Regions from separate parts of the Homo sapiens genome. Here all the other regions are linked to region 2. The links are contacts of gene promoters, found by promoter capture Hi-C in blood cells and fetal thymus (Javierre and others, 2016). All regions are on one chromosome and are shown on one strand. Each heading gives the region's core, a stretch centred on a gene start or on the middle of the fragment in contact. The rest is flanking DNA. Distances are from core to core; before and after follow the strand shown.

Region 1 (3,617 bases), core at 24-2,523, 360 kb after region 2:
TCTCTGGATGAATTTCTATGGAGACCTGGTGGAACAGATTCTGGTTATTTGCATCTGGAACTATGCAGGCAGACGATAACCTTCTGCTCCTATCTGATAGGTAATACAGTGAAGCAGAAAGAGCACAGGCTCTGGAGTCAGACTCAAGGTCTTGCCCCAGCTCCGTCTCTCACCAGTTATGTGACTTCGTGAAGCACCCAAGTTTCCTTACCTGTGAAATGGCAACTCGAACATCTCTAGTGCTGAGCTACAGTAAAGGACCACTTGGGACAACACCTGCACGTCCTAAGTGCTCAAAAATGGAAACTGCTATATGGTAAAATAGCCCTATACAGTCCAAATTCCTGTGCCTGACAAAAAGGTTTTTTGAATAAATGAAAGATTCATTTCTTTCAGCCCACGGAAACAATGACCTCTAGGTCTGTTACCTGTTTGGTCATGCTTTCTCTCTTTCGCCAAAACCACCAGCGACCAGATTTCTTTGGCATCTTGTCTTTCACCCAGGACTCAACTGTGGCCTGAAAACAACCAACCTGGGTTAGTCTGGGCAATCTACTGGCCACACAGCACCTACCTTCTATGCTAGCCTGAAGGACGGGGCCTTACTATGGAATGTGAGAACGTGACCGATGCTCTCTTCACACCTCCCAGATTCCTCTAGCGTTTTTAACACCTCTGAGAGACAGACCCCGTCCTGCTTTCATGGCAGCACAGCTCTGTGGCATGAGACCAGGCGGTCTGCTATGTAGGACCTTAGGGGCTGACAGGTGGGCAAATCTCATTTATCTATCTTTGGAAAATGTGGTTCTCATGAGTTAAGAGGACCAACTAGGCTGATGATGTCTTCTTGGGGGACAGATTAAAAACCAATTGTGAGTTTGTATATAACAGGTATGTTAGCCACCATCTGCCCTAACCACACTGATGTCAAGCTTCTCTTGGCTACATCACCTTCTTCTTGCTGCTTCTTCCCATATTAATGGGAGAAAAAGTTTTTTTCATTCATTCCATATTTAACTTATGATTAGTAAAATCTCTCAACTTTTACAGACCATCAGAAACTAGTATTTATGTCTAATAAAAATGAAATAAAGAAGTGGCAGCCCTGCTAATTTCCCAGAGTTTGGGCATGAGATATTTTTAGTGGGTACATATGACTTTGATCTTTTATATTAAATATTAAGCTCAAGTAAAACTTTGAATAGTACCCAGTTCAGAAATATGCACATATGGATTTGTGTAAGTACTAGACACTGCGGATGCTTTCGGAAAGGCAGCAGATGGTGGATCGCCTCACCTTAGGCAAGCTCTTCTGGAATACTTGCAAGCTAAGGATCATGGGAGCTGCCAAAGCCCAGTTATAGTAACTGTGAGAAACAAAAATTGTGCAAAACCATTACACAGTGAAAGTGAGCAAGAGAGAGGGGAGGGAATCAGGGAGGGAGGGAGGAGGGAAGTGACATATAAAATTGCTTATTCTTTTCAATAAAGATGATCAGCTGAATTTTTTGTCACATGAATAACCTTCGCTTCAAGCACAACTTCTCTGAACAGAGAAGCCGTAAAATCTATCAAACAGAGTAACATTTCAATGCTTCTTTTAAAAATAAAATTGAAGCTTTACTTTCACTTCAAAGTCATTGCCCACTGGCTAATTTATATGAGATGACAAGTTTTATAAGAAGGAACACTTTTATAAGTAACAGTTAAAAATGGCACTTGTAAAAAAACTGCAAGAGTATTTAACAATTATAAAAGCAGGAGTATTTACCGATTATATATCCTTATTACAAGGTTAGGATTGTCTATAAGTCCAGGGTTTTCTGCAAATTCGTGATAAGTAATGATATGCTCCATGAATTTTTCTGCAATGTAAAATAATAATCAATTTGGTTAGAGATTACATAAATCCCTATATGAGATTATAATACTCTCTGCATTGCAGAAATTGAAGGCTAAAATCATCTGTCTAAAAAAACTAATTTTTGAATATTCATCAAAAGCAAAATGTCAGACGCTTTTTTTCCCCAGGACAAGAAAGAACACTTCTTTTCTATTCTCCTTTTCCACTGTCTCCCAGTGAAAACAAACAAACTAGTAAAAAGGGACATGACAGAGACTTTCAAAAAAAATACATACAGATGTGGCTAGAGAGGGACGGAAGACAGACACAGAAAGACAGACAGACACACACACACGAAAACTGTCGAAGTTCTATTCTCAGAGGAAGAAACTTTACTGACAGGCAACGGCATAACTGGGGAATATTCATAGGGGTCTTACAGCTTTAGCAAGCTACATTATATCAAAACATATCTTAAAATTGTTTGGGCCAGGCACAGTGGCTCACACCTATAATTCCAACACTCTGGGAGGCCGATGTGGGCCGATCACTTGAGGTCAGGAGTTAGGGACTAGCCTGGCCAATACGGTGAAAACCCATCTCTACTAAAAATACAAAAATAAGGCGGGTATGGTGGTGCCAACCTGTAATTCCAGCTACTTGGGAGGCTGAGGCAGGCGTGACAATCACTTGAACCCAGGAGATGGAGGTTGCAGTGAGCTGAGATGGTGCCACTGCACTCCAGCCTGGGTGACAGAGCAAGGCTCTGTCTTAAATAATAAAAACAACAACAAAAATTACATGTTACAATTGCTTGGAGAATTAAAAAAACAAAACAAGGCAAAACAAAAAAACCTAGAATTTGGCTCAAGGTCTGTGAAATAAATCCCAAGTTCTTGCAGAGTGAATGAGGGCTTCCCATGAATTTTTGTACCCTGTTCCTAAACCTGTATTCTCCTAGATCTAGGCTAACAGAGAAACTGCTCACTTGGATTGTTTCTCCAGGTAATGTGTGTATTACTTACATTTACTTGTCATTTCTGCCTCTTCCAATAAACTCTACTAGACTAAGTCACCAATATTTAAAACAAAGGTGTAACTTTTATATTTTACCTACATTTTGTATTTCGCATTCCCTCGCATATAATTTTTTAAACTGAACATTTAAGAGGATTACAGAAAGAATGTGACCTATTTAACTTAGTCCCTAGAATGAACCATTGGCCATAACACACTTTAAATTTCTTGCAAAATATAAAGCAAACAAACAATGAAGAGACAGGGAAGAGGCATAATGAGCTTCCTGTGACCCTGGAAAGGAAAGACTTCAGGAACACATGGTCCTGAGCCTCTGGCCATGCAGTCTGCCACATCACACCTTCAGTTCCTCTAAGGGAGAGGGAAGACAAAAGATGACACTAGTCACGGAAAGAAAATTTTCCCTTAGAAGAAAATCATACAGGGGCCACAGGCCAAACTGAGAAATACTAAGAGTTCAGTTTTAAAAGGAAGGTTAAAAAAAAATGCTGATGAATTGAGGACGGATGCACATGGCACTCAGCCCAGCCTATAGGCATCCTGACATGTCTGCTAAACTCCCTCCTGATTCCTGAGCAAGCTTTACTCTCGTAGGCCAACCCTCCAGCCTTATACAGAAAGTAATCCTCCTAATTTTTGCCAGAAAGACCACGTACTCAGTGGACAATCAATTTTCTACAACTTCAGGGCCCTATATTCATGTCTAAGGCCCAGTGCTTTCCAGAAGGGCAGCTGG
Region 2 (3,690 bases), core at 304-2,803:
CCTTTTAACTCAGGTTTTGATATGGTGAAAAGAGTCACCAGGGTTATTCAGACACCCCGGCTGTCAGGGTCCTTGGTGGTTAAACCTGGGAAAAGGCCACATGAAGACAACTGTAAGCACACATGATCCCTCTGAATTGTTTTCTTTTCCTGCAATTGTGCTTGCTCTTAAAAATTGAAGTTTTAAACAGGGCTCACATGTGATCATCCTTCCATCTATTGGAGTCTAGCTTGAAATGTGACAACCGGAACCAAAAGAACCTTGAATTTGGTGCCTACTTTGGTTTTGGTGCTGCTGCTTCTCAAGATCCTCAGCAGGGATTAAGAAGTTGGGGTGCACAGCAGGAATATCAGGAAATTGGCAGGCTTGACTTCCTGGCAAATTGCTAGCAGGACCACTAAATGCTGAACTGTACTGTGAATGTATACCGAAATACAAGCAATTATTTCTGTACTAAAGGTGTTTTTAATTTTGTATTTGTGTAAAACCACCTTTGGAAGCAGCAACTATCTAGTCAGAAAAGCAAATGATGTTTCCATTAATCTTTTCTGGGGAAAACATTAGTGCTAAGGATTTAACAATCTGTAGGTAAAGTTTAACCTAACAGTATTCCACAAGGAGACTTTTTATTATCAGACGGTTGCCTAATTTTCATATAATTTTTATATTAATATAATCCTTGGTTCCTCCCCATCCCCTTCATAGGCCACAGCTGAGGTGAAAAGGGTCCTGGAATGGCTAGTGAGAGCTAGAAATTCAGACGGGAAAATTGAAACTCAGAGCAGAAAGGCAAGCTGCCCAAAAATAACAACGCTAGTTAATGGCACAATTGCTACCAGACCCAAGTATCCAGACTTCCTGGAGCTGTGAGATCTTTCATCACCACCACTCTCCAGGTACCGGGCAGTGCCTGTTTCTGGATTCAAACTCACAGCAGCGAGGAAATCCTATTTTAGCAAAGTGATCTACTGTTACTGTTGTTAGTGCACCCCTCTCCTGCGTCTCTGCTTCACATCCACTCCCTCGCCGCCCGCCCCCAAACACTTGGATTCTTCCTAGCCTCTCACAGGTCAGCCACCACCAGAGGACCGTGAGCCTCCGGCAAGTGATCAAATACTGAGCCCGAATTTCGGCAGCCGTACCAACGCAATCCTGGGAGCCCATTCCACCCACTCCGCAGCCCCTCTCCCACCTCACCTCTTCCCTTGTCAGAAAAGCGGACGCCGCCTTCCCAGACTCTCCTCATGAAAACAGCACCCATCTAAATAGTGATCATGAAAAATGCCCCTTCCAGTCCACAGAGAAAAAGCTTTCTCCTTTTCTAAGAGTCCATGGGCGCCGCCATGTTGCTGTACGGAAAAACGTTTCCAGGGCGAGTTGAGCGTTCAGGGCACTCCTCGGCGCTCAAGCTGCCCACAGGTCTTCCGACCTAACTTTAGGGGTCGTGCCAGTCTTCGTAGAGACGGCCACACTGGCCCACAGACCCCAGTTCCTGGGGTGACGCAGCTGGGCGCGACCAGCACGCAGCCTTCCAGCGACGAGGCGGTCGCATGGAAGTTACTGCGCGCGTCGTGCGTAATGACGTCAGCGCCGGCGGAGAATTTCAAATTCGAACGGCTTTGGCGGGCCGAGGAAGGACCTGGTGTTTTGATGACCGCTGTCCTGTCTAGCAGATACTTGCACGGTTTACAGAAATTCGGTCCCTGGGTCGTGTCAGGAAACTGGAAAAAAGGTGACTGAATGACATCGGATTAACTTTGTTTCTGCAGAGCTGTTCTGGAGGAAGAAAGTGATGGCGCCAATGACTTAAATTTAGAGGTCCTGAGGCGATGTTTTGGTGTTTGTTTGCTGTTGGGAGAAGCCTCGAGGCCAAAACTGTGCGAGGCGCTGGTTTCACGGGATCTATTAAATTTCTAGTGGCAACGATTTCCCAAGGAGGAAAGGGGAGGGCCTGGGGGACACTGATGAGGAGTGGAGGCTCGGGAGAGGAAACGGGGAAGAATTGAAGGGGGCGGAAAGAGATGGACAAGAGAGGACTCGTTGGGTGGGTTGCGTCTGAATACTAGTGTAGCTTCTTATGGCCGTGTAGGACTGCGTGTAGAAGTCTTCATCTTAAATCATGAGAGCTACATTCTAAGTGGAGATTAAACGTGGACACACAGGTGTGAGTGGAAAAGTTGAATAGATGAACAAGCGCATATTGAAGAGGAAATAGGCGGCCAAAATCAAGAAGAGTCTAATCAGTGTAAAAGACTAAGGAGTACCCAGAGAAGTAAAAGGATTGTCACCTTCCTGAAAGCCAGGGCAGGACCTGAGAAGGCTGGGTGCAGAGATGAGACAGGATCAAAAGTTTTGTCAATCATGTGTATCCTAGGAGACAAATTTTTTAGCAGATGTGAAGGGAGTGACCTGTTAATGTGGTTTGTAAATGGAGGCAGCCTATAGACCATTTTATGGACCGGATGATTTATCCTTGTTGAAGGGGAGATTGATGCCAAAAGGGCAGTAATTGAGGAAACAATGGGTTAAGGACAGAGCAGGAGAGATTGACATTAGGAAAACAGAATAATTCCATTCTCTGAAACCAAAGAAAAGGAAACATTTTGAGGTGAATAAGAGAATTTGAGGTAATTTTTTTGTCTTCCTATTGAAATAGGCACAGCCAACAGCAGTAATGTGGTCTGGGTAACAGACAGGGCTTTAGCTACCACGGATACCCTTGTGAAGGCAAAAACCGTAACTTACTCGTCTTTGCATCTCCTGCATTGCCTAGCACACTCCCCTATATATATAGTGGGCAGTTAATAAATGTTTATGTTGAATATTTTTAAATGGAATTAAATAGATGTTCCTTGCAAATGAGAACTTCAGTGTACATGAACAAAAAAGAGATACCCCAGGGGAAAGATGATGATCTTGAAGAAACAATGAAACCTGACTGTCTTTCTGTTTAAGGATAAATAGTTGCTTAATGTACCATCTCTGTCTGGAAAGTTTTTTTTAAATACTGAATTCGTGAATGTAGGTCATAAGCATGAAGCGCAGTTCAGTTTCCAGCGGTGGTGCTGGCCGCCTCTCCATGCAGGAGTTAAGATCCCAGGATGTAAATAAACAAGGCCTCTATACCCCTCAAACGTGAGTATTTCCCTTGTGGTTCTAATTTGCATGCTTTATCATCTTAGGCAAAGAAATCATAAGAAATAGTTAATATAAAGATGTAATATGAGTGATGTCTTGGTGAATCTTGTCTGTTCCCAGGGGTACCTAATTTTGGATCAATGAAATCTAAAAGTGGGCATGATACTCTGCTAGGTGTTGTTTGTGTCATTTGTTTCACAAATTTCCAAAGCCAAATGCTTTACCAGGCACCCCCTAAAAGGACTGTTAATTCTTGTTCAGTACTCTCTTATTTTTCTCTTTTATTCTAGAGCTACTTGTTTAAGCAGGCTCTGTGCTGTAACTTAGAGTTCACTGAGATATTTCCAATTAGCAAAGCTTCAATCAAATCAGAGCAAAATTATTTGCTCTCATAAGGTATAATATAGTAGCAGCCTACAAAACACCACTCCTCCGAACTCTTTCCTCAAGATTTGCTGGAAAAATATCTGAAAGAACCTGCTGTCATAAACTATAGTTTTTCATTATGAGTGATTATCTTCCAGATAAGAGAAGGCTATTTGTAAGCCATTG
Region 3 (4,134 bases), core at 1,553-4,052, 430 kb after region 2:
ATAATGTCCATCAATTACATCATCCAACCTCTCCATTTCAACAGGCATGGTGACGTTGCAGAAAAGATATGACTACATGCTTACCTCCCAGGAAAATATCTTTTTTTTTTTTTTTTTTTTTTTTTTTTGAGACAGAGTCTCTCTCTGTCACCCAGGCTGGAGTGCAGTGGCGCCATCTCAGCTCACTGCAAGCTCCGGCTCCCAGGTTCATGCCATTCTCCTGCCTCAGCCTCCCGAGTAGCTGGGACTACAGGTGCCCACCATCACGCCTGGCTAATTTTTTGTATTTTTAGTAGAGACGGGGTTTCACCGTGTTAGCCAGGATGGTCTCGATCTCCTGACGTCATGATCCACCCACCTCGGCCTTCCAAAGTGCTGGGATTACAGGCGTGAGCCACCACGCTCGACCAATATCTTTATCTATCTATTGAGTATCATATATATCCCAGAATAACAGACCCACATCCCACCATCTCCAAATAAAGCATCATTTGGTTCTACAAAGGCCTTGCCAATGGCACCAAGTTTGCTATATTTGCTAATGGTAAACTTCTGCATAAGAGGTGCCAGAATCAACACATCATAAATATGTACATTTCATTTTTGGAGGCTTGTATTTTTCTTTTTCTTTTGAGACAGAGTCTCACTCCCTCACCCAGGCTGGAGTGCGGTGGCGTGATCTCGGCTCATTGCAACCTCCACCTCCCGGATTCAAGCAATTCTCCTGCTTCAGCCTCCCGAGTAGCTAGGATTACAGGTACCCACCCCCACGCCTGGCTAATTTTTGTATTTTTAGTAGAAACGGGGTTTTGCCATGTTGGCTAGGCTGGTCTCAAACTCCTGACCTCAGGTGATCCGCCGGCCTTGGTGTCCCAAAGTACTGGGATTACAGGCTTGAGCCACTGTGCCTGGACTCATTTTTGTTTTTTGTTTTTTTTTAGTAGAGATGGGGTTTTACTCTGTTGGCCAGGCTGGTCTTGAACTCCTGACCTCATGTGATCCACCCTCCTCAGCCTCCCAAAGTGCTGGGATTACAAGCATGAGCCACTGCACCTGGCAGAGGCTTGTATTTTTCTAAACATAACAAATTCAAAGGAACATTAATGAAGTCAAAGCTATAGCAGTCACTTTCAAGACATCATCAGAGTACCAGGCCACTATGCCTATAACTCTGCAGTGTGCCACAATGAAACCAAGACAGTGCCCCAATTCTGATCAAAAGGTGACTTCTGCTGCATAAACAATTCACAAACCTTACATATGGCATCAATCATTGTTTAATGACTCCTGTGGGGGGAGAGCAGGCTCTTCCATAATTACTAAAAGCAGTATAACTCAAAAAGAAACAAAAAGTCACCAATTCATCAGCTTACTTAGCTGATGTCACAGAAGTAGCAGGAGGATTCCTTACCCCCCATGCCACAGACTTAGTTTTTCAAACATCTCCAATTTCTTGCTTTTAGCTCTCAAGGATGCAGTCCCCCAGCTTCCCAGAGGGAAGTCTGCTAGATCGGTAAGCATGAATTCACTACTTCCCTACTGTTTCCTTTGGAAGTGCCTGAAGTGTCTCCTTGTCTCAGTTAAACAGAACATGGTGACCGTGAGGCAGAGTTTCCAGTGCCAGGCAGCTCCAGGCACCCTGTGCCTGTGTTCTGCAGAGGAGTCTTTCCCAATGTCAATCAAAACACAGCTCAAGTTTCATGCCCTGCTTTATTAAATTCTGCATGGTGCCCACTGGGACCACAATGGAATCTTCAGAAACGTAAGGAGAGGTACCTCCCTTTCCTGGCTCTGGGAGGACACTTGGGTAAAGGGAAAGGCTGTGGCCATACCAACAGCACTGCTGCAATCAATGCCACCAATCACTCAGATTTAGGCTATTTTTAAGTAGTTTTGCAAAACAAATGCCAAGTAAGGCTGCACCAGTGTGTTATCACAAGCTGACTTGCATACTAAGCTACTTCAACAAGAGAGAAGGACTTCCAAGAGCAACAGCAAGTCAGCGAAACAGCACTTGAAAGTCAGAAAACAAGGCCTCTTTCACTCACTGATCTGCTCAACAGCAGTGTCTATTCTATTCTGAGAGCTGGGGATCAAGCAGTGAACTTGGCTGACAAGGTACCTGCCCTTGTAGTGGTTATATTCTAATGTGGGGAGGGAGAAAACAACAACAACAACATATGTTAGGCTGGGACAACTATTATAAAGGAAATAAAAGAGGGTGCTGCTCCCTGAAGAGAGGGAGGAAGAGCAGGAAGAGCCACTTTTAAGGAAAGAAAAGCGTTGTAGAGCCCAGAACAGGAAAATACATGACAGATTTTTTTTTAAGCAACAAAGCTCCAAGAAGGCTCATATCTGAAAAAAGAAATAGAGTATAACATGGAGGGACAGAGCATGATGAGAACCTGGCTAACATGTTCACGAAACTATGCCAGGATATAGATACGGTTTACTTTCTCATAAGACACTACTGCTGTTCTTTCTTTAGTCATTTTGCCAACCTTCAAATGACTTTAGAAACAAACCAAGAGTGAAAATGAGACAACTCAGATACTGTCATTAAACATTCAGGAACATGCAGAAATTTTGGCAGTCACAAGTCTGAACAAAAATCTCCAGTTGTAATCTAAAAATTACTTCCTAAGAGTTTCTTTCTGATCATTAGTGAAGATAGGTGTAACTAAAAGCATCTTTAAAAATATTGCTCTAACTAGACATCCTGTTAAACCCAGAGGATGTCACATGTGTTATCCCCACTCTCAAAACCCACTGTTTGGGTTGAAGTATATCCTCCAAAAAAGAAACGCTGAACTCCTAACCTCTGGTAGCTCAGAATGTGACCTTATTTGGAAAGGGGATCTTTACAGAGGTATTCAAGTTAAAACGAGGTCATTAAGGCTGGCCCTAATCCAGTAGGACTGATGTCCTTATAAAAAGAGGAAATCTGGTCCAGGCGCCGTGGCCCACGCCTGTAATCCCAGCACTCTGGGAGGCCAAAGCGGGCGGATCACGAGGTCAGGAGATCGAGACCATTCTGGCTAACATGGTGAAACCCCGTCTCTACTAAAAATACAAAAAAAAAAAAAAATTAGCCGGGCGCGGTTGCAGGCGCCTGTAGTCCCAGCTACTCAGGAGGCTGAGGCAGGAGAATGGCATGGCCCGGGAGGCGGAGCTTGCAGTGAGCCAAGATCACGCCACTGCACTCCAGCCTGGGTGACAGAGAGAAACTCCGTCTCAAAAAGAAAAAAAAAAAAGAGGAAATCTGGACAGAGAGACAGACATGCACACAGAAGAACGCCATGTGAATATAAAGGCAGAGATTGGGGTGATGCATCTGCAAGCCAAGGAACGCCAAAGGCTGCCAGCAACCCACCAGCAGCTAGGAGAGGACGCTAATAAAAATAAACATCCAAGAATGAGAAAGCGCTCTTGGAAATTAACACACAATTGTAAAATTAAGACATTCTATAGAAGGGTTGGAGAATAAATACCAGCCTGGGAAACACAGCAAGACCCTGTCTCTACAAAAATTAAAAAATAGCCAGGCACGGTGGGTCTCACCTGTAATCCCAGCACTTCAGGAGGCTGAGGTGGGAGGATCACTTAAGGCTGGAAGTTCAAGACCAACTTGGGCAACATTAGTGAGACCCTATCTCTGTTTTGTTTTTTTTTTTCTTTTAAAAAGAAGAAGAGGAGGAGGAGGAGGAAGAGGAGAAGGAGGAAGAGGGGAAAGAGGGGAAGGAGGGGAAGAAGGAGGAGGAGGAGGAGGAGGAGAAGGAGAAAATGTAGAAAGCAGATCTCCCAGTAAATCCAACAAGGATAAAGGAATGGGCAAAAGGAGGAAAAAGATGAATATCAGAGCATCAATCCAAAATGGCCCCAATATCTGACTTGTAGACTTTTTAAAGTACAGAAACAGGAGAGGAAAAAAAGGTAGGGAAAGGCAGGAGTTGGATATTATCAAATAAATCATACAAGAAATTTCCTGGCGTCAGAAACATGATTTTCCAAATTGAAAGTTCCCACCAGGTGCCCAGCTCAAAGGATAAAGAAACACCTGCACTGTTGTGGGCTCCACCTATGGCAGTCACGACAGAAACATGCTAATAATAGACAACGTTAAAGGCTACACAA
Region 4 (4,071 bases), core at 1,073-3,572, 380 kb after region 2:
AACACCCCAAAGCCATAATTAAAGCTAAGCCTATTAAATTCTTCACAAAGCAAAGATCAAAGCAGCAACAAAAATCTCAGGAGGTGTTACAAAGGACTCTCTCAAGAACTCACACAGAACATTCAGAACAGGAAAAAGCAGAAGGCAGAGATTAAGGACACTACATCAGACAAAGGGCAGCAGGACAGGTGAGTGACGCGAGGATGCAGTGATACAGAGCGGCCAATGCTTATGTTTTGCCAAATTAATTGGAGAAAGGCAATTAGAGACAATACCGTGTAACAAATGACATTAGTAAATTTTTAAACCATAAAGCATTTATGTTTAAAAATAAGAAATATTCCTTCCTGTAGGAATTCAAAAGAAGAAAATAAGGCCCAATATTTAGAAGCAGTCAAACTCCTAATACTAAATAAACGATCAAGTCTGGTGTTCAGTAAATTCATGTCTTAGCCATTTGTTTCATTCCTTTTTGTATCATCAGAGGAAATGGAAGGTACATAATAGAGATAAAAATTAACTTCAGGCAGAACGTGGTGGCTCACGCCTGCAATCCCAGCACTTTGGGAGGCAGAGGCAGGCGGATCACCTGAGGTCAGGAGTTTGAGACCAGCCTGGCTAACATGGTGAAACCCTGTCTCTACTAAAAATACAAAATTAGCTGGGCCTGGTGATGCATGCCTGTAATCCCAGCTACTCAGGAGGCTGAGGCAGAAGAATTGCTTGGACCTGAGGGGGAGGTTGTAGTGAGCCGAGATCATGCCACTGCACTCCAGCCTGGGCAACAGAGCGAGACTCCATCTCAAAACAAACAACAAAAAAATTAACCTCATATAATTTAAAATACTCAAGCTTTTAAACAATAGTTCTGAAAATGTATAGGTTTCTGTAATTATTTTTTTATTAAGCTTTTGAACTTAGCTTTGATAAACATATTACCCTGAAGCTAAAGTTTGATTTAGCTAGGAGAAATCTGTGTTCACCAGAAACACACACTTACAGAGAAATTGTAATAAGATATTCTGAATGTCCAAAAGAAACCCAGATGAGAGGTCGTGGTCTCTGACTTTGAGGATTTTTAATTCAATGATCTTTATTTTACTTACTGAAAGCTCTTTTTGTTTCTGGTGGTATTTCTTAGTTCTATTATAGCAATGTTTGTAGGATGAAGATAACCTGAACGCCTACCAGCAAGAAAATGGTTAAACAAACTATGGTATGTCCATACTATGGAATACTGTGCAGCTATTAAAAGCACAGAGTTAGGTTTAGAACTAGACTTGAAAAGAATGTTGATGACATATAATTAAATGAGAAAAATCTGAGAGAAAAAAATCAAATAAATGGCAACAAACTGGGTTTTTGGTCATCTTTATCCTACTCTAAATGACGAACCCCTAGAGGAACAGAGGCATGTTGTATTCATAGCATGTGGCATAGAGTAGTAATTCCAACATTTGTTGGATAAATTAACAATTTTTTATTTTAAGGAGAAGCATACTACACAAGATAAACTCTGGTCAATGTAGTCATATGTGGAATAGGGAGAAAAAGGCTGGAAAGTTGACATTTTCCAAGTTGTCCTTGCTGAGCATAATTTTTAGCGGAACTGTCAGAATAAGCCATGAAAACGAGGTTAACATCAATAACCCAGTCCTCTCGCTTACGGTGCCTGCTGATCTAGAAGTTCAGTGTTATGAATTATAAATAATTTTAAGAAACATACAAAAAGTGGTTTTTTTTTTTGACAGATGTCATTTATTATGTTTCATTCTGCTCTTTGCCTCTGTCTCTGATAAGGAAAAATGTTGCTTAGGCCAAGTAAATGCAAACAAGGTATTACAAAGATAAGTAATGAAGAAACTAGAAAAAGCACCAGTCTGATCAAGCTTCCCCTTCATAAATCATAGTGTTTCAATGCTGCTTTACCTACTGGTACCTAAGTTGTTGGTTTCTCAATCAAAAAATGATAAACAATCTCATTTTGCTATCGTATTTTTTGGTAATAATTTTCTTTGTAAATTTATTGTATCAAACTGTAAGTTCATCTTCAAAGCCAAAAAAGTAGTCCTGTATCCTTAATAACTTGATGCTTATCAGTTTTGCTATTTGAGACTTTATTCTTTATGAAGAATGATGTACTGATGCCTTTGAAAGAATTTTTAAAAAGATGCACATTACGTGATCTGAGTTCTTTAGTGAGAATGTAAAATCTATTATTAATAAATAAATAAATAAAAAGATCCACATTGAATCCATCAAGAATCCGTCGTTAACTAGCGTTCAAATCAGTACATACAGAATGTGTGTGCTGGGGAGGGGGGATTTTAACAAATCATGCTCGTTTGCTAGAAGAAGTCAAACATGTAATCACTTATAAAAGGATATAGGCCAATTAATTTAACTCTCTTGAGATCATAATAAATTAATTCACCTGACTACTCAAGGTGAGGGATGTAATATCCCAACCAAAATGGTAAACATGAGTCCCAGTCCAAAGGGCACATGTGGATAAACACATAGCCAGAAGAGAAATGCCCTACTCAGGCAGAACTGAATGTATTCAAGTCAATATGTGAACCAGAAGCAACACTAAGTAAGAAAGCTCATTAAAGCTAGAAAGTGATGTGCCTTCCCTTAGAAAAAGTGCAAGTATGTGCATTCAGCATGCTCCCTGCACCCTGAAACTTTGTATGGAGAAAAATTCCTCATCCCTTCAGTTCCTTTTTGACAGCTTAGTTCTTCAACATGAAACTAAAGCTTGTCTTGCCAACAACAGTCCTCTGTACAATCAACCATAAAAAACTGCTAAACGGTCCGTCTGGGCCACGTACCAGAGGCCTGAGCACACTGTGTAAGGAGGGTGTAACCCATGCAAACTTACATATTCTTCTTCAGTCTCCTCAACAAAGAAAGCTTCTCCGTTATCACCCAACTTCATGTGAAGATCCACTGCACTGCCGTTGATTTCTATATCAATCTATGGGAGAAACAAAGTATGACTTAATGTTCAAGGAGTCTTTCCTTCAAGTTAAACTAAACCAGAACTCTGAGTTCTCAAGTCAAACTTAGCATAGTTTTGAGGTTCCTAGAACTACAGCCTCTGAGAAACACTGCTACTTGCCCCTACCCAACCCCTAAGAAGCCAAATGGAGCTGGCAGAGGGAGAGATGGACAACCAGGAATTGAAAGAAAGTGTTTCACCATCTATTTTTACAACATATAAAAATTTTAAAATTATTTTTCAAATTTAAAATGGGGGAAATATTATTGTCAAACATTTGCACACTTTCCAAGTTATGGCACAGGCAGGCCTCACCTCACACGGTTCAGATACACACAAGTTTCAGGAACCTCAGTATGTGAGCTGTGAGCAACTGCATCAAGTACAACTTCACCGACAGCTCTTCTGCCCACAGATCACTACGTAAGTAACAGGTGACAATCAGTGCTGTGATTGGTCACTGATGATGGCGGTTCCATTTTCCCAAGAACCAGGTGAAACGATGGGATAAGTAATATCATGTCAAAAAAAAATTCAGGTAGACATATGCGTTGGGCCATTTTTGTGTTTGCTATAAAGAAATACACAAGGCTGGGCAATTTATAAAGAAAAGAGGTTTAACTGGCTCATGGTTCTGCAGGCTGTACAAGCACGGCGTTGGCATCTGCTTGGTTTCTGGGGAGGACTCAGGAAACCTTTACTCACGGTGAAAGGCGAAGTGGGGGCAGACACGTCACATAGTGAGAGCAGGTGCAAGAGACTGGGGGTGCCACACAAAGGTGCCACACACTTTTAAAACAATTGGATCTTGTCAACTCAGCAAAAACTCATTCATCCCCAAGTGGATGGTGCTAAGCCATCCATGAGGGATCTGCCCCCATGATCCAAACACCTCCCACCAGGCTCACCTCTAACACTGGAGTTCACATTTCAACATGAGACTTGGAGGGGACATCCAAACCTTATCAACATATTTTGTCAAAATGCTTGTTATAAAACTCCTATGTATGGGCCGGGTGCAGTGGCTCATGCTTGTAATCCCAGTACTTTGGGAGACCAAGGTGGGC
Region 5 (3,814 bases), core at 422-2,921, 410 kb after region 2:
ACCTGTAATCCCAGCACTTTGGGAGGCCAAGGAAGGTGGATCACCTGAGGTCAAGAGTTCAAGACCAGCCTGATCAACATGATGAAACCATCTCTACTAAAAACACAAAAAGAAGCCGGGAGTGGTGGCACCTGTAGTCCCAGCTACTCAGGAGGCTGAGGCAGGAGAACTGCTTGAAGTCAGGAGGCGGAGGCTGAAGTGAGCCAAGACTGCGCCACTGCACTCCAGCCTGGGCGACAGAGCAAGACTCTGTCTTTTAAAAAATAAAAAATAAAAAAAAAAGTTGAAGGAGAAACAAGATAAACAAGATGTCTGGATATTCTCAAAGTATTTTCCCCAAGATACACATTCATTACAAAAGGAAAAAATTTTAACTCTATAGTAGAGAAACCTGGAAGACACCACCATAATCAAGTGATCGGGAAAACTTAAGACACACTGACCTCAGGGACTCCTGGTATGACTCACTGAAAAGGACTTTTGAGGTATTTTGACCAAAAACACACAACCTCAATCTAATTATGAGACAACATCAGACAAACCGAAGTAGAGACAAATTCAACAAAATATCTGACCAGTGCTCATCAAAACATCAAGGTCATGAGAAGCAAAGACTAAAGAACTGTCACGATTGGAAGAGACTAAGGAGACAGGACAATTCAAGGTAAGGTTGGGCTCTGGAACAGAAAAAGGACATTAGTAAGAAGAATCTGAATAAAGTCTGTAGTTTCATTTTCAAAACAAAACAAAACAGTTATTCTTGGCCTCCACTACTGCCTTCAATTCTGCTTCAGTCTGTCTGGGAAATCTGTATTTTCTTTTGAAAGCTCCACAGGGATTCACTCAGTGATGAGTCAGATGTGGGCATCATCGTCCTTGGGGCTCACTTCTCACCCCCGGTGCACGTTGCAGTCACTGAGGTGCTTGGGGAATCCTCATGATCAGGCCACCCCATCTGCAGATTCTACTGCAAGTACTTTTGAAAGCCTCCAAATGATCCCAGAATGTAGCACATCTCAAGCTGTGCCTCAGGACCACAGGTAGGTGGAATGACTCCCAAACCCTCTTGTTTTCTTGACAGTGAACAGAGCTGAAGAAGGGTGGTGTAGTAGTTCCTGTTCCTTTCCTGCCTCACTTCCTGGCCTCAAGTGATCTACCTGCCTGGGCCTCCCAAAGTGCAGGATTACAGGTGTGAGCCACCATGCCCAACTGAGATTTTTATTTAGATCCTTTCAGAGTTGTGTCCATCTCCTCTAGGCCAGGCCAGCAGCCTCACTTTTTGGGACACCTAAAGGCACAGTGATGTAACTAAGGTGTGTTTTCCCAATGCACGAAGACTACACCTGGATCACATCTACAAAACAGGGCTCACCAGGCACTCTAACGCACTGAGTATGCTGAGTATGTAATCAGGACCAAGTATCCAGGCAAACTCAACATGGTAGCATTCATACAGCCATTTGCTGGATATCTGCCCAGCTGTGTTATTCATAAACCCAGAGCAGCAAAAAATTCCGACATATTAGTGGAGGCAAACAAAAAAAAATTGATTTACATGCATCTACTGGACTCAGTTGTAGTACAATAAATATTTGCTAAATGAAGACAATTTTGTTTCCTCTACATTAATAGGCTTAGCTATGCAATATACAGTGTGTGTGGAGGCAGTCTGTGTGCATGTATGTTTTAATTGTAAACTACTTCTAAATCCTTCCTTACTGAAAACAGATGGGGGCACAAATATAAAAATGAATAATAAATAATTTTCAAATAGCCGAAACATATTCATGTCCACAGTCCCAAAACTACTCCCCCCCAAATTCCTGAGTTCATCTGTGGCGAGCATGCTTTGAAAACAAAGACTTTCAGAGAATTTACTCCCCCAAACTGCCTAACCAGTAATCTTGTATGGTCCCTCAATATATCCTCTTAGCAGGCCTCAGAGTTTTCATTTCAGTGCACACTGTCACTTGGCTAGTGAGCCTACCAAAGCACACCTGTAGGTTTACTAGAATCCTCTTCCTCCAATGCAGCTACTTCTGCTGCGCTTAAGGAACCATCACCCATTCACAGCTCAGTGGCAAGAGCACAAACACTCCTAAAACTTAGGGGAGTTAGGAGGGAGGAAAGGTATCATTTTCAAGCCCAAAGTTACTAGCTATGGAGAGTGGGAGCTAAAACATGGCTTGAAAATGGAACTCAGAAAATGTTTGTCTCAAAAATTTTAGCGAAACTTGGCCCTTATCCAGAAAGAAAGAGGAAATTCTTGCATTAGCCCTTCTTCCCCCTTGTTCTAGGACTCAGAACTCTGGTTGAGTTCTCTGGCTAATTATGAGACAGGCATAGCAACATTATTTCTATGAGGAAATAAAATTCCACTCAATTAAATAATTACTTTTTTGAACACTGGCCATGCTAGACTGGAGGAACACAGTTAGTTTTAGACTTGTTCACCTCCAGTTGTTCTAGGAATCTGGGCAGCAATCAGTAATGACAACGTGTTATGGTTCCCCACCACCAACCTCAGCCCCACCCCAAATCCTGGGTGGACTAAGGTTTCCTAACTTAGCATGATGCACGCTGCCTCGTATCATGTGCCCCACCTACAGGGTGACTTGCCACCTCTGACCACTGTTTGTGTTATTAAATCTGGTTGAGCTTTTTGGCATCAACCAGAGGTGCCCATGTCCTTTGATAAATAGCTCACAGAGATGAGAATTGAGGGACACTGCCCTCAGGGCTTCCTGGAGTCCCCTGAAGCTGGTGAGGATGTGAAGACTCAAGATCAAGTCTCGCTTCCGCTGGAGAAGAGGTCTGGGCTCTGTGCCGGGGGTTCTCTCTAACAAGAATGGTCAGGTGACCTCTAGAGTCCCCCCCCAGCTCTAAACTGCAGAAAAGCTCCAATTCTATAAGCATTTCTGAGGATTACAAGTTTGGCTAAGAACTCCTGTAGTATATTCTGCCCTAAATGGGGTGAAAATATGGCCAGTAGATTATTCTGGGACTTCAGGTTATTTGAATATAAAATAATTTAGCTTTTTCCTTAGCAAATAAAGGTATTGTCTTCACTTGTTTCAAAAAATATGAAAACATGGTCTTTGAAATTTCCCAATTTCTAACAAAGCACAGAAATCTTCTCATGGTTTTCCAAATCATGATATGATACATTTATATTCCCAAATCACAAAACCATGAGGAAAGACTCTTTCAAAACTGAAACTGTCACCTTACAAAAGGGGTGCCCAGAAAGGATGTGATTTGTAAGGAGTGTTCAGGTCACAGAAGGCCTGGACCCTGAAAACCAGGGTTCTCCCTCTAACCACACACACCCAGGTTATAAAGTCAAACTCCTATATAATCATTACAGGCTACTAAGCAGATATCAGATCCTTATCCCAAACGTTAGCATTAAGAAAACTCATGCTTCTCATGGGACAGGGAGGTGACTCATTAGACTTCAATGTTCTAACGGCAACATAAAATGGGACCGTTAATAAAATGCAGCCTAAGCAAACACCTCTTGACCTCTTTCTGGAAAACACCAGCAGACACAAGTCTTAAGAACTTCCTGTGAGGGAGAGTTTATGTGTGTTAGTGCTACTTAATATATGAATGTTTAAAGTATTTCGTAAAAAGTCAGCAAGGTTCTCTATTCTCCCTTCTGACCTTTACAACAAATGTGAGTGAGCCAATATGTGTATACATTCTATAATATTACAATGTTGATTTCAAAAGCAAACTGCCTCCCCCGTGGTAGCACCTGACTCTTCCATTCATATTCAAACCACGTCTTTCCATTAGTTCCTGAGAACTC

Evidence for each region. Contacts are between HindIII fragments. The CHiCAGO score rates a contact against its expected background, and 5 or more counts as called.
Region 1: a fragment that was not itself captured here is called in contact with the fragment with the promoter of METTL4 in region 2 in 1 of 17 cell types (naive CD4 T cells); the score reaches 5.5 in naive CD4 T cells.
Region 3: a fragment that was not itself captured here is called in contact with the fragment with the promoter of METTL4 in region 2 in 2 of 17 cell types (neutrophils and total CD8 T cells); the score reaches 6.2 in neutrophils.
Region 4: a contact is called between a fragment that was not itself captured here and the fragment with the promoter of METTL4 in region 2, in 3 of 17 cell types (total CD8 T cells, activated CD4 T cells and naive CD4 T cells). The highest score is 6.8, in total CD8 T cells.
Region 5: a contact is called between a fragment that was not itself captured here and the fragment with the promoter of METTL4 in region 2, in 5 of 17 cell types (naive CD8 T cells, naive CD4 T cells, non-activated CD4 T cells and 2 more). The highest score is 6.8, in naive CD8 T cells.

What each region holds. Positions count from the first base shown.
Region 1 is chr18:2,927,294-2,930,910 of GRCh38, forward strand. It overlaps LPIN2 (lipin 2), which reads right to left. Exons shown (of 20, transcript NM_001375808.2): 10 at 1,772-1,865; 11 at 1,298-1,367; 12 at 429-518. Among named protein-coding and RNA genes, the nearest start is that of LPIN2-AS2, 38 kb to the right of the region's middle. The HindIII fragment of the contact is 686 bases long and covers 931-1,616 here.
Region 2 is chr18:2,569,952-2,573,641 of GRCh38, forward strand. METTL4 (methyltransferase 4, N6-adenosine) reads right to left here and starts at 1,554. Exons shown (of 9, transcript NM_022840.5): 1 at 1,198-1,554. It overlaps NDC80 (NDC80 kinetochore complex component), which reads left to right and starts at 1,606. Exons shown (of 17, transcript NM_006101.3): 1 at 1,606-1,732; 2 at 3,026-3,135. The coding sequence starts at 3,035. RefSeq lists enhancers at 647-1,569, 1,452-1,611. The HindIII fragment of the contact is 2,186 bases long and covers 1,308-3,493 here.
Region 3 is chr18:2,996,368-3,000,501 of GRCh38, forward strand. All of the region lies in intron 1 of LPIN2 (lipin 2), which reads right to left. Among named protein-coding and RNA genes, the nearest start is that of LPIN2, 15 kb to the right of the region's middle. RefSeq lists enhancers at 1,778-1,877, 1,948-2,097, 2,365-2,464, 2,579-3,501. The HindIII fragment of the contact is 6,417 bases long and covers 1-4,134 here.
Region 4 is chr18:2,951,620-2,955,690 of GRCh38, forward strand. LPIN2 (lipin 2) reads right to left here. Exons shown (of 20, transcript NM_001375808.2): 3 at 2,885-2,980. Among named protein-coding and RNA genes, the nearest start is that of LPIN2-AS2, 13 kb to the right of the region's middle. The HindIII fragment of the contact is 871 bases long and covers 1,888-2,758 here.
Region 5 is chr18:2,977,931-2,981,744 of GRCh38, forward strand. All of the region lies in intron 1 of LPIN2 (lipin 2), which reads right to left. LOC124904236 (a long non-coding RNA gene) reads left to right here and starts at 425. Exons shown (of 2, transcript XR_007066268.1): 1 at 425-1,040. The HindIII fragment of the contact is 4,754 bases long and covers 1-3,814 here.